Linked DNA regions of Homo sapiens: all the other regions are linked to region 3. Evidence: promoter capture Hi-C in 16 types of primary human blood cells and fetal thymus (Javierre and others, 2016). All regions are on one chromosome and are shown on one strand. Each heading gives the region's core, a stretch centred on a gene start or on the middle of the fragment in contact. The rest is flanking DNA. Distances are from core to core; before and after follow the strand shown. Region 1 overlaps PACSIN2 (protein kinase C and casein kinase substrate in neurons 2). Region 2 holds the start of TTLL1 (TTL family tubulin polyglutamylase complex subunit L1). Region 3 holds the start of CYB5R3 (cytochrome b5 reductase 3). Region 4 overlaps TTLL1 (TTL family tubulin polyglutamylase complex subunit L1).

The links. The method cuts DNA at HindIII sites, captures the fragments that hold promoters and counts their contacts. A CHiCAGO score of 5 or more calls a contact.
Region 1: a contact is called between a fragment that was not itself captured here and the fragment with the promoter of CYB5R3 in region 3, in 3 of 17 cell types (M2 macrophages, M0 macrophages and naive B cells). The highest score is 6.5, in M2 macrophages.
Region 2: the fragment with the promoter of TTLL1 here is called in contact with the fragment with the promoter of CYB5R3 in region 3 in 2 of 17 cell types (M0 macrophages and M1 macrophages); the score reaches 6.5 in M0 macrophages.
Region 4: a contact is called between a fragment that was not itself captured here and the fragment with the promoter of CYB5R3 in region 3, in 1 of 17 cell types (endothelial precursors). The highest score is 5.0, in endothelial precursors.

The regions. Positions count from the first base shown.
Region 1 is chr22:42,969,762-42,972,858 of GRCh38, forward strand. The region is part of intron 1 of PACSIN2 (protein kinase C and casein kinase substrate in neurons 2); the gene reads right to left. Among named protein-coding and RNA genes, the nearest start is that of PACSIN2, 44 kb to the right of the region's middle. RefSeq lists an enhancer at 612-1,599. The HindIII fragment of the contact is 4,275 bases long and covers 1-3,097 here.
Region 2 is chr22:43,087,846-43,090,799 of GRCh38, forward strand. It overlaps TTLL1 (TTL family tubulin polyglutamylase complex subunit L1), which reads right to left and starts at 1,546. Exons shown (of 11, transcript NM_012263.5): 1 at 1,432-1,546. RefSeq lists silencers at 1,314-1,653, 1,418-1,712, 2,461-2,520 and an enhancer at 1,418-1,712. The HindIII fragment of the contact is 9,359 bases long and covers 1-2,954 here.
Region 3 is chr22:42,647,783-42,650,791 of GRCh38, forward strand. It overlaps CYB5R3 (cytochrome b5 reductase 3), which reads right to left and starts at 1,610. Exons shown (of 9, transcript NM_000398.7): 1 at 1,513-1,610. The coding sequence starts at 1,533. RefSeq lists silencers at 1,121-1,470, 1,491-1,680, 1,991-2,090 and an enhancer at 1,785-2,598. The HindIII fragment of the contact is 5,222 bases long and covers 215-3,009 here.
Region 4 is chr22:43,063,910-43,066,845 of GRCh38, forward strand. TTLL1 (TTL family tubulin polyglutamylase complex subunit L1) reads right to left here. Exons shown (of 11, transcript NM_012263.5): 6 at 281-415; 7 at 1-12. Among named protein-coding and RNA genes, the nearest start is that of TTLL1, 24 kb to the right of the region's middle. The HindIII fragment of the contact is 3,184 bases long and covers 4-2,936 here.

The DNA of each region.
Region 1 (3,097 bases), core at 304-2,803, 320 kb after region 3:
GAACCCATCTCTACGAAAAATTTTTAAGCTGGGCTTGATAGTGCACAGCTGTGGTCCCAGCTACTCAGGAGGGTGAGGCTGCAATGAATCATGATCCCACCACTGCACTCTAGCCTGAGTGACAGGGTGAGATGCTGGCCCTTAAAAAAAAAAAGAAAAAGAAAAAAAAAAGAAAAGAAACTAGAATGACCCCCCGTTTCAACAAGTATCAACACATGGCCAATCCTGTTTCACCTGTGATGTGAAAACTGTAGAATGCTCACAAAATCACAGAACCCAAATGCATCTCCACCTGACCTGGCATGCCCCCTTCGACACTGGCACCACAGCCCAAGTCCTCACGCTGGGAAGAGGCACAAAGCAAGCAGAGCAGGGTCCTGGCCTGAAGGGATCAGCAATCTTTTGGGGAACCAGTGCCACCTGAATCACATTTAAAAAGGAGAACGACTAAAGTAAACCCGCAAGGTTAACATCACGGTGGTGAGTCATGGCAGTATCAGGTGCCTCCTGAGATGATGTAATGAAAAGGGCACTTCACCTCTGTGGGACTCTCCCCAAATTCATCCACCAATCTAATACTAGGAAAAATCATCAAGGACCTGGATGGGATCCTAGAACTGCAAGAAAACATCAGTGGGAAAACTGGTGAAATCCAAAGAAAGTCCATAGTTTATTCAGTAATACTGCATCAATGTTAATTTCTTAATTTCAAAAAATAAGCTATGGTTACATAAAATGTTAACATTAGAGAAAGTCAGGCAAAAGGTAGACAGGAACTCTATTAGTTTTGCAACTTTTCTGCACATATAGAATTCTTGTAAAATAAAAAGTTTATTATAGAAATAATAATACAAAAGTTTAACGAACATTCATTACGTCCTTTGCAAAAAGGAGTCAGGGACAATGTGGTCTTCTTTTTAAAATTTAGCCAAGGAAGATGAAGCCTAAAGAAATCAAATGATTTGTTAAAATCTTTAAGTAAGCAAGCACCTGGAAAGGAAGGCAGGGCCCCGTGTAAGCTGATGTCACCCGAGGTGCTCCATGGCAGTGCACCACCAGATATGGAGTGCTTGTGGTAACAAGCAGTGCTGACCATGAGATGGGAGGCTGGCCTGCAGCGCCTCCCCACGCCACCCACAGCTGTGCGGTCAGACAGCGACCCAGGCTCCCTGCACCACCCTGCCCTGCCCCCAGCCTCTCCACAGCCCTCTCTGCTACAGCCTACCCCTGCACCACCTCTCACCACTCAGCAGTTTCTGAGGGTCTGCAGGCTAACGCTAAGCTAAAAACAATGAAAGGAGGTGGCATTACAAACCACCATGATAAAAATATTCTCCCTCTCCCTCTCCCTCCACGGTCTCCCTCTGATGCCGAGCCAAAGCTGGACTGTACTGCCGCCATCTCGGCTCACTGCAGCCTCCCTGCCTGATTCTCCTGCCTCAGCCTGCCAAGCGCCTGGGATTGCAGGCGCGCGCCGCCACGCCTGACTGGTTTTTGTATTTTTTGGTGGAGACGGGGTTTCGCCGTGTTGGCCGGGCTGGTCTCCAGCTCCCGACCGCAAGTGATCTGCCCGCCTCAGCCTCCCGAGGTGCCAGGACTGCAGACGGAGTCTCGCTCACTCAGTGCTCTATGTTGCCCAGGCTGGAGTGCAGTGGCGTGATCTCGGCTCGCTACAACCCCCACCTCCCAGCCGCCTGCCTTGGCCTCCCAAAGTGCCAAGAGTGCAGCCTCTGCCCGGCCGCCACCCCATCTGGGAAGTGAGGAGCGTCTCTGCCTGGCAGCCCATCGTCTGGGATGTGAGGAGCCCCTCTGCCCGGCCACCCAGTCTGGGAAGTGAGGAGTGTCTCTGCCCAACCGCCACCATGTCTGGGAAGTGAGGAGCGTCTCTGCCCGGCCGCCCATCGTCTGAGAAGTGAGGAGCCCCTCCGCCGGGCAGCCGCCCTGTCTGGGAAGTGAGGAGCATCTCTGTCCGGCAGCCGCCCCGTCCGGGAGGTGGGGGGTAGCCCCCGCCCGGCCAGCCGCCCCATCCGGGAGGGAGGTGGGGGGCAGCCCCCGCCCGGCCAGCAGCCCCGTCCGGGAGGGAGGTGGGGGGCAGCCCCCGCCCAGCCAGCAGCCCCGTTCGGGAGGTGGGGGGCAGCCTCCACCCGGCCGCCGCCCCGTCTGGAAGGTGGGGGGTGCCTCTGCCCGGCCGCCCCGTCTGGGAGGTGAGGAGCCCCTCTGCCCGGCCGCCACCCCGTCTGGGAGGTGTACCCAGCAGCTCATTGAGAACGGGCCATGATGACAATGGCGGTTTTGTCCAATGGGGGGGGGAAATGTGGGGAAAAGAAAGAGAAGTCGGATTGTTACTGTGTCTGTGTGGAAAGAAGTAGACATAGGAGACTCCATTTTGTTCTGTGCTAGGAAAGATTCTTCTGCCTTGGGACGCTGTTGATCTATGGCCTTGCCCCCAATCCCGTGCTCTCTGAAACATGTGCTGTGTCCACTCAGGGTTAAATGGATTAAGGGCGGTGCACGATGTGCTTTGTTAAACAGATGCTTGAAGGCAGCATGCTCTTTAAGAGTCATCACCACTCCCTAAGCTCCAGTACCCAGGGACATAAACATTGCGGAAGGCCGCAGGGTCCTCTGCCTAGGAAAACCAGAGACCCTTGTTCACATGTTTATCTGCTGACCTTCCCTCCACTATTGTCCTATGACCCTGCCAAATCCCCCTCTCCGAGAAACACCCAAGAATCATCAATAAATACTAAATATATATATATATATTTTAAACCACCACCATTTTAGAAAAATAGTTCCTTATACATCTAGGAAAAAAAGATATGATCAGAACTGTGCACTAGGAAACCTGAAGTTGTAGCTCTGCACCAGGATGGGCCCAAAGTGGCCAAAGGAGAATTCCACCTCTGGGCTTTCCGACCTGGACACCACGCCAGGAAGCACACAGTCTACTGCCTCACTCTAAGAAAAGTCAGCCATGCTTTTACTTTTTTTTTTCTTATGTTGCCCAGGCTGGACTTCAACTCCTGGGCTGAAGCCATGTTCCCGCCTCAGCCTCCTGTGTACCTGGATTACAGATGCATGCCACTGCACCCAG
Region 2 (2,954 bases), core at 296-2,795, 440 kb after region 3:
AAAAAAAAAACCAAGAATATGGCCAGGCACAGTGGCTCACGCTTGTAATCCCAGCACTTTGGGAGGCCGAGGTGGGCGGATCACCTGAGGTCAGGAGCTCGAGACCAGCCTGGCCAACATGGCGAAACCCCATCTCTACTAAAATTTAAAAAATTAGCGGGGCATGGTGGCGCGTGCCTGTAATCACAGCTACATGGGAGGCTGAGGCAGGAGAATCGCTTGAACCCAGGAGGCAGAGGTTGCAGTGAGCCGAGAGCGACCGCACTCCAGCCTGGGCAACAAAGCAAGACTCCGTCTAAAAATAAATAAATAAATAAATAAAGTAATAACAATGTCAGTGATGACTTCATGTTGAGCAGGGCATTCGTTCACAGCGGTATTGTCACTGTCCATCTCCACGCCCGCACTGGGTGACAGTACCATGCTCCACAGTGACTGCTTACCAGTGTCTGTAATTTGAGGGCAGAGAAGGGCCCATCTTTTTTTTTTTTTTTTTTTTTTTTTTTTTTGAGACAGAATCTCGCTCTGTCGCCCAGGCTGGAGTGCAGTGGCGCAATCTCGGCTCACTGCAAGCTCCGCCTCCCGGGTTCACGCCATTCTCCTGCCTCAGCCTCCCGAGTAGCTGGGACTACAGGCCCCCGCCACCATGCCCGGCTAATTTTTTTTTTTTTGTATTTTTAGTATAGACGGGGTTTCACCGTGTTAGCCAGGATGGTCTCGATCTCCTGACCTCGTGATCCTCCCGCCTCGGCCTCCCAAAGTGCTGGGATTACAGGCGTGAGCCACCGTGCCCGGCCGGGGCCCATCTTTTTGTACCGCCACAACCCGGCACCATAATGTGCTCATCAAACGTTTCCTGAGCAAAGAACCTGCTTTGCAAATGCCAAAAGGGCTAACAATGATAAGATACTTTCACTTCCAGAATTAATCTCCTCTAATGCCCCAGCTACTCTATGGAAAAGGATGACTACCCCGCCCTGCCCTCTTAGCTGATAGGGAATCAGAGAGGGGAAATGTCTTGGTCCAGTCATCTAGAGGGAAGACACAAGGCTCTTGTCTCCTGCCCTGAGTTCTCTCCACAGGTACATTGCGCCCTGCAAAAGATGCCAACAGAAACAACACAGATTGCAAACGAATGGGAAACGTGTAGGAACAATGAAAGTCTGGGATAACAAATAATAAACATAATGATGCAATTGCAACAGTCGGACAGCACGAGGTAAGTCATAGGAACTCAGCGGACGGAGAAAGGCACGGTGGTTAGCGCGGGCTTCCTGGAGGACGCGGATCCGGCAAGCAGCATCTGAACCGCATTTTCGCAGCCGCGTAGACACTGGCGCCCACACTCTCTCACCCATGCGCACTCGCCAGCCCGCGCGCAGCCACACCCTCGGTGCCCGGGAGGCGGCGGCCTGGGGGACAGGACCTCACCTGTGGGCTCAGAGCGCCGAGGGACTCGGAGGAGCGCCCTGCAGGGATGCCTCGAGCCGCGCCCTCGCCCCGCCTCCAGCCCCTCTCCGGCGCTCGCAGGAGTACGCAGCCGACTGCCAGGCGCACCGGCCCGCCCCGCCCCGCGCTGCACTCTACTTCCAGGGCGGCGCCCTGGCAACCCAGGACGCGACCGCCGGCGCTGCGACTATTTCCGGAGTCAGACTTGCCTGGGGCTCCTTTGGGCTCCATACCTCGGGCGGCCGCTATGCCCAGGGCTTGGATCCTAGGAAATGCCAGGCCGTCCACCCTCTCGGGGCCCAGAAAGGAGATTGAGAAGGGTCTGGAGCACGGGATTAAGTCTAAAAAGAAAGGTAGAGCGGTGTGATGATTAGGTCCGAATCCTGGGTTCGGTCTCAATCCGCTGTTTAGCCTCTCCTACCCCTTCTACCTCGGCTTCCTTATCTGAAGAAATGGTGATGTTGCGCCACTGCACTCCAGCCTGGGCGATAGAGCGAGACTCCATCTCAAATAATAATAATAATAATAACATAAAAATAAAATAATTTTTTTTAAAAAGTGTTTATCTGGGCCAGACTCGGTGGCTCACGCCTGTAATCCCAGCACTTTGGGAGGCAGAGGCGGGTGGGTCGCGAGGTCAGGAGATCGAGACCATCCTGGCTAGGCTGAGGCAAGAGAATCGCTTGAACCCGGGAGACAGAGGTTGCAGTGAGCCAAGATCGTGCCACTGCACTCAAGCCTGGGCGACAGAACAAGACTCCGCCTCAAAAAAAAAAAAAAAAGACGTTTATTATTCTCGTTATAGACCTGTGTTACCTCGAATTCTCTATACAATTATTCATTTTTAATTTCATCAATTTAAAGAGTTATGCAAACTTGTGCAACTTGTAAGTGACAGAGTCTGGCTTTGAACCCAGGACACCTGACCATTCATGCTGCTGCCTCTCAGGAGGGGTGGTGGTGTGCTTTCTTAGTGATGATTGGAGCTTTGCTAACATCACTTCCTATAATCTCCCACACAACCGCCTCCCAGGCCCAGAGCACATTCAGCGCATCATCATTTACTTTTGGCACCATCTAGTGGAACCAACACTTATCTGGAGTCCAAATTGCCAATTCATACCCTTCAGCTGCTGTCTGGTTGTGAGGCCTTGAGAAGTCCCAAGGCTTCCGACTACAGTGTTCTCACCTTAAACCCAGGAGATGAGTGAAGGCTTGCAAGACGTGGTTAGGGCCTGGCATAGTAAAGTGTTCAATAAACATTGTAGCCTTCCAGCATGTTGCCTCATGCCTGCAATCCCTGTACTTTGGGAGGCCAAGATGGGAGGATCACTTGAGGTCAGGAGTTCCAGACCAGCCTGGCCAATATAGCAAGACCCCATTTCTAAAAAAAAAAGAAAAAATATTTTTAATCAGCCGGGTATGGGGGCGTAGCCAGCAGTCCTACTCAGTTACTCAGGAGGCTGAGGTGGATCACTTGAGCCTAGGAGATTGAGGCTGCAGTG
Region 3 (3,009 bases), core at 360-2,859:
ATCACTTGTGCCCAAGAGGTTGAGGCTGCAGTGAGCTATGATCGCGCCACTGCACTACTGTCTGGGTGAGAGACTCTTCTCAAAAAAGAAAAAAGAAAAAAGAAATGTATGGAGCAGCCAGGTGCAGGGGACGTGGCCATAAATCCAACCACCAGCTGGAAGGTATGGAACACCACCAAAAACAGCAGGGAAGGGTTGGGTGGAGACCAGGGGAAGCTTTAGAGACACAGGCAGGACATTTCAACAATAAAGGAGGCAGATGCTTTCTGGGGAAAAATGGGCCGGGTGTTGCATGGAGGTTGGGGTGATGCCCACAGGTTCACCCTGGCCAAGGTTGCCTGGGGTCTGAACATCCCGAAGTTCTGGGTTGGGCCACACTTTCCTTAGCAACCACCCAAGCCAAGAGGCCTTTTGCCTGGATCCCCAAGGAGGAGACTCCAGGTCCTCCCCAAGGAGGGAGGACCCAGGTGCCCTCCAAGTGGCAGATGCCAGGCATAGAGGTAGAGGTGGAGGTGGAGGAGCACTGGGCTGATTCCTCCTGTGCCAGCCTCCCCACGCCTAGCGGGTCACAGTTGACAGGAGAGCTGCCCTCTGCAGCCGCAGCCTCCACATGTCCACACAGACTCAAGCCTCCAGCCTCACCATGGTCAACTTTTGAGAAACTGGGGAGAGGAGGTGGCCTGGGGGGAAGGGAAGGTGGCTCTAGGCCAGCCCAGGAGTGACAGCAGCAGAGTGGACTTTGAAACCCCATGGAGCAGGCTCCTTCCGGCGGCAGCGTTGTGGGACGGTGGCCAAGACTAGTTTGCATTTCCCCATCTGTGAAATGGGGCAAACAGCACTGACACCGCAAAGTGTGAGGTCCCCAGCACAGCTTGCAGGGTCAGTGGGAGCCTGGCCTTGATGGGAGCCTGGCCCACTGAGCATTGGGAGGATGCCCCCGTGTCATCCGGGTTCTGTTCCTTGTTGCTAAACGTGCAAAACCCTCTGACATAGTGACATCGCACACACACACACGTTCAGTCGCAGTCAGTGACATCGCCCATTCACATACTCCCGTACACACACACACACCCCATCACACGTTTCCATGCCCGCCCTTCACACCCACGGTCACACTCACACACACATTCACTCTCAAGCCATTCACACGCTCGCTCACACACTCACACTCAGCGGCACACACGCTCACAACCACGGGTCCCTCCAGCAGCCAAGGCCCCACGGCGGCCAGGGCAGGGCCCAGGTGCCCCCGGGTGCTGGGCTCTGGCGCGCCCCCCGGGCAGGAGGGCTGGGTCCCCGCTGCAGACTGCCAGGGCGTAAGTAGCGGTCACCACGTAGCTCGCCCAGGCCCTTGTGGGGTGGGGTGGGGCGCGGCGGGCTGGGCGGGCGAAGTGGGTGCGGCCGGGTGCGGCCCGGGTCCCGCGTCACCTCCCGCAGGCCAGCCCGCCCCCTCGCCGCCGGGTCCCAGTCCCTCGCGACGCCCCGCGGCCCCGGCGCCCCCTCCCCGCCTACCGTGCTGAGCTGGGCCCCCATGGTGGCCCCGCGCCGCGCTCGCTCTGTCGCCGCCGCCGCCGCCGCCGAGACCGTCGCGCCCGGGCCCGCGTCACTCCGGAGCAGGGGCGGGGCCGAGGGGCCAGGCGGGCGCGCGGGGCGGGGCGGGCGCGGGGGCGGGGACCGGGTCGCTCCGCCTGCTTCTGCCGGGGATGGAGACTGGGAACTGGGGATGCGGCCCTCTGCGCTCCGAGCTCTCCCGCCGCTGTGCTGCCCCGCGCGGGACGGTGGCCTCTCTGGGCCTCGTTCGCCGCCATAAAGGAAGCAAGATGGCGCCCCCCGGATGGGAGCGAGAATAAGAGGCGGAATCTTCCCCCGGCCTCCGAGACTGCAGGGGCCGGTCCTGCCTGGCCTGGCCTGGGCCTGTGCCTGCAGCTGCTCAGCGCGGCCCTTCCCCGGGCCTTTGAATTTGTAGTTCCCTGGGCAGCACTGTTCCCAGCTGCCTCGGGCCGGGTTAAATGCTGCGGTCTCAGCACGGCCCGCCCGGAGCCTCCTCGCCGGCGGCGCCTCCGCTCCCCACGCCATTGTCCCACTGTGGAGTGATCTTTGTCCCACTTAGCTGAAGGCCTCCTGCGTGTTTCCCCCACTCCCACCCCATCCCAGTGGACTGTGCGCTCCCGGAGGGCAAGGCCCTATCTGGTTTGAAGTCCCGTACATCCCCAGAGCCTAGCCACACAGAGCCTAGCATATAGTAGGTGCTCAATAAATACCTTTTTTTTTTTTTTTTTTTTTGGTAAAGCAGGGTCTCACTCTTGCCCAGACTGGAATGCAGGAGCCTGATCACAGCTCACTTTAGCCTCAACCTCCCAGGCTCAAGTGTTCCTCCTGCCTCAACCTCCTGAGTAGCTGGGCACATGCCACCACGTCCGGCTAATTGTTTTTTTTTTTGAGACGCAGTTTCGCTCTTGTTGCCCAGGCTGGTATGCATTGACGCGATCTCGGCTCACCGCAAACTCCGCCTCCAGGGTTCAACAGATCCTCCTGCCTCAGCCTCCCGAAATTACAGGCATGTGCCACCACATCTGGCTAACCAGCTAATCTTTTTTTTTTTTTTTTTTTTTTTTTTTTTGAGACAGAGTCTCGCCCTGTCCCCCAGGCTGGAATGCAGTGGCGCCATTTCGGCTCAATGCAAGCTCCGCCTCCAGGGTTCACGCCATTCTCAGCCTCCCGAGTAGCTGGCACTACAGGCACCCCACCGCGCCCGGCTAATTTTTTGTATTTTCAGTAGGGACGGGGTTTCACCGTGTTAGCGAGGATGGTCTCGATCTCCTGACCTCGTGATCCGCCCGCCTCGGCCTCCCAAAGTGCTGGGATTACAGGCGTGAGCCACCGCGCCCGGCCTAATTTTGTATTTTTAGTAGAGACGGTGTTTCAACATGTTGGTGAGGCTGGTCTCGAACTTCCGACCTCAGGTGATCCACCTGCCTCGGCTTCCCAAAGTGCCGGGATTACAGGTGG
Region 4 (2,936 bases), core at 346-2,845, 420 kb after region 3:
CCAAGCTTGTACCTAGGAGGGAATGTAGATTAATTCAAACTCTGAGGAGAAACAAAAAGAAAAGACACCACTTCATTCTCTAAAAAGAGCTGCTTTTGTGTGTGTGATTTACACGACTCACATCGGCATCGGGCCTGACTGCTCTTACTTCCCTCAATCCCTGCCCCGTGCCAGGCACCGCACATGCACTGTTTTATGAAACCTCACAATGGTGCTAAGAAGAAAGACGTTTTGGGTGAAAACACAATCAAGAGGGAACCAAAACCTTAGGGACGCTTACATGTAACAGCGCAGTGGACGGTACGTGGACACCAGAACGTACAAGCGCAGGTCGAACTTCCTCCCGCCAATTAGTAACGGGTTGTTAATATAGAGAGAGATCACGTAGGCTTCCTTATTAGATTGAGACACAAACCTAAACATGGCAGAGAAAGTAAAAATTAGATGGTAAAAGATGCAATAACGAAGACACAATCCAAGAAAGGAATAACTGATAAGCCGGACTTCATTAAAATTAAAAAATTAAAGAGTTTTGGCTGGGCGCGGTGGCTCACGCCTGTAATCCCAGCACTTTGGGAGGCGAGGCGGGTGGATCACTTCAGGTCGGGAGTTCAAGACGAGCCTGGTCAACACGGTGAAACCCCGTCTCTGCTAAAAAGAAAAAAAATTAGCCCGGTGTGGTGGTGTGTGCCTGTAGTCCCAGATACTCAGGAGGCTGTGGCAGGAGAATCACTTGAACCCAAGAGGTGGAGGTTGCAGTGAGCTGAGATGGCACCACTGCACTCCAGCCTGGGTGACAGAGCAAGACTCCATCTCAAATAAATAAATAAGTAAATAAATAAATAAAGACAGTAAAAAGATCTGTGGTTGCCACAGACTAGGGATAAACAGGCAGAGCACAGAGGATTTTGAGGGCAGTGAAACTACTCCGTATGTTACTATGATGGTGGATCTGGACGAGCTTGGTGGCTCACGCCTGTAATCCCAGCACTTTGGGAGGCCGAGGCGGGTGGATCACCTGAGGTCAGGAGTTCGAGACCAGCCTGGCCAACATGGTGAAACCCTGTCTCTACTAAAAATACAAAAATAGCCAGGCATGGGGGCGGGTGCCTGTAATTCCAGCTACTCCAGAGGCTGAGGCAGGATAATCGCTTGAACCCGGGAGGCAGAGTTTGCAGTGAACCAAGATCCTGCCACCGCACTCCAGCCTGGGCAATAGAGCAAGACTCCATCTCAAAAAATAAATAAATAAAATAATGGTGGATCCATGTCACTATACATTTGTCTAAGCTCCCAAAATGGACAACACTAAGAGTAAACCCTAATGTGAACTATGGCCTTTGGGTGATGATGGGCTGGTGTCAGTCTGCCAATTTTTATTTATATATATATATTTTTGAGACACAGTCTTCCTCTGTCACCCAGGCTGGAGTGCACTGGCGTGATCTTGGCTCACTGCAACCTCCACCTCCTGGGTTAAAATGATTCTCCTGCCTCAGCCTCCTGAGTAGCTGGGATTACAGACGCCAGCCACCATGCCTGGCTAATTTTTGTATTTTTAGTAGAGACAGGATTTTGCCATGTCGGCCAGGCTAGTCTCAAACTCCTGACCTCAAGTGATCCGCCTGCCTTGGCCTCCCAAAGTGCTGGGATTACAGGCTTGTGCCACACACATGGCCAAATTTTTTTTTTTGAGATGGTCTTGCTGTGTTGCCCAGGCTGGAGTGCAGTGGTGCGATCACAGCTCACTGCAGTCTCCTGGGCTCAAGTGATAGTCTCACCTCAGCCTGGCAAGTAGCTGAGACTACAGGCATGTGCCACGACACCCAGCTAATCAGTTTGCTAACTTTAACAATTCTGGTAGGGGATGCTGATAAGGGGGGAGGCCGTGCATGTGTGGGGAAGGGGTATAGGAAAAAAAAAATCTCTGTATCTTCTTCAATTGTGCAGTAAACCTAAAACTGCTCTAAAAAAATCAAGCTACTGGAGGCCTGTAATCCCAGCACTTTGGGAAGCCGAGGCAGGAGGATCACGAGGTCAGGAGTTCAAGACCAGCCTAACCAACATGGTGAAACCCTGTCTCTACTAAAAATACAAAAATTAGCCAGGTGTGGTGGCGGGTGCCTGTAGTCCCAGCTACTCAGGAGGCTGAGGCAGGAGAATCGCTTGAACCTGGGACGTGGAGGTTGCAGTGAGCTGAGATCGCACCACTGCAGTCCAGCCTGGGAGACAGAGCGAGACACTGTCTCAAAAAAAAAAAAAATTAAAAAAAAAATCAAGCTACTAGAAAAAAAATGGATGGTAAAGACCAAAGGTGCATCTCGTCAGCTGGCAACACGCTCCCGGCCTCTCACTGTGAGGGGCTGGGTCATCAGGAAGGAAATGGGGGTGGGGTGTATCCATGGAGGACACACCCCCTGCCCCAGGGGACAGTGCAAGCAGCTGCAGGACAGTCCCCAGGAGTCCACTCAGGGAAATGCTCCTCGGGCCTGGCCATCTGGGGGCTAGCAAAGTGTAATTAGATTTAAGCATGGCCGGGCATGGTGGCTGACACCTGTAGTCCCAGCACTTTGGGAGGCTGAGGCAGGCAGATCACTTGAGCCCGGGAATTTGAGATCAACCTGGGCAACATGATGAAACCCTGCCTCTACAAAAAAGAAAAATTAGCCAGGTGTGGTCGTGTGTACCTATAGTCTCAGCTACTCAGGAGGCTGAGGTGGGAGGATCGCTTGGGCCTAGGAGGTTGAGGTTGCAGTGAGCCATGATCCCGTCTTAAAAAAAAAAAAATTTTTTTTTAGGCCACACACAGTGGCTCACCCCCTGTAATACTAGCACTTTGGGAGGCCAAGGTGGGTGGATCACTTGAGGTCAAGAGTTAGAGACCAGCCTGGCCAACATGGTAAAACCCCATCTCTACTAAAAATAAAAAAATTAGC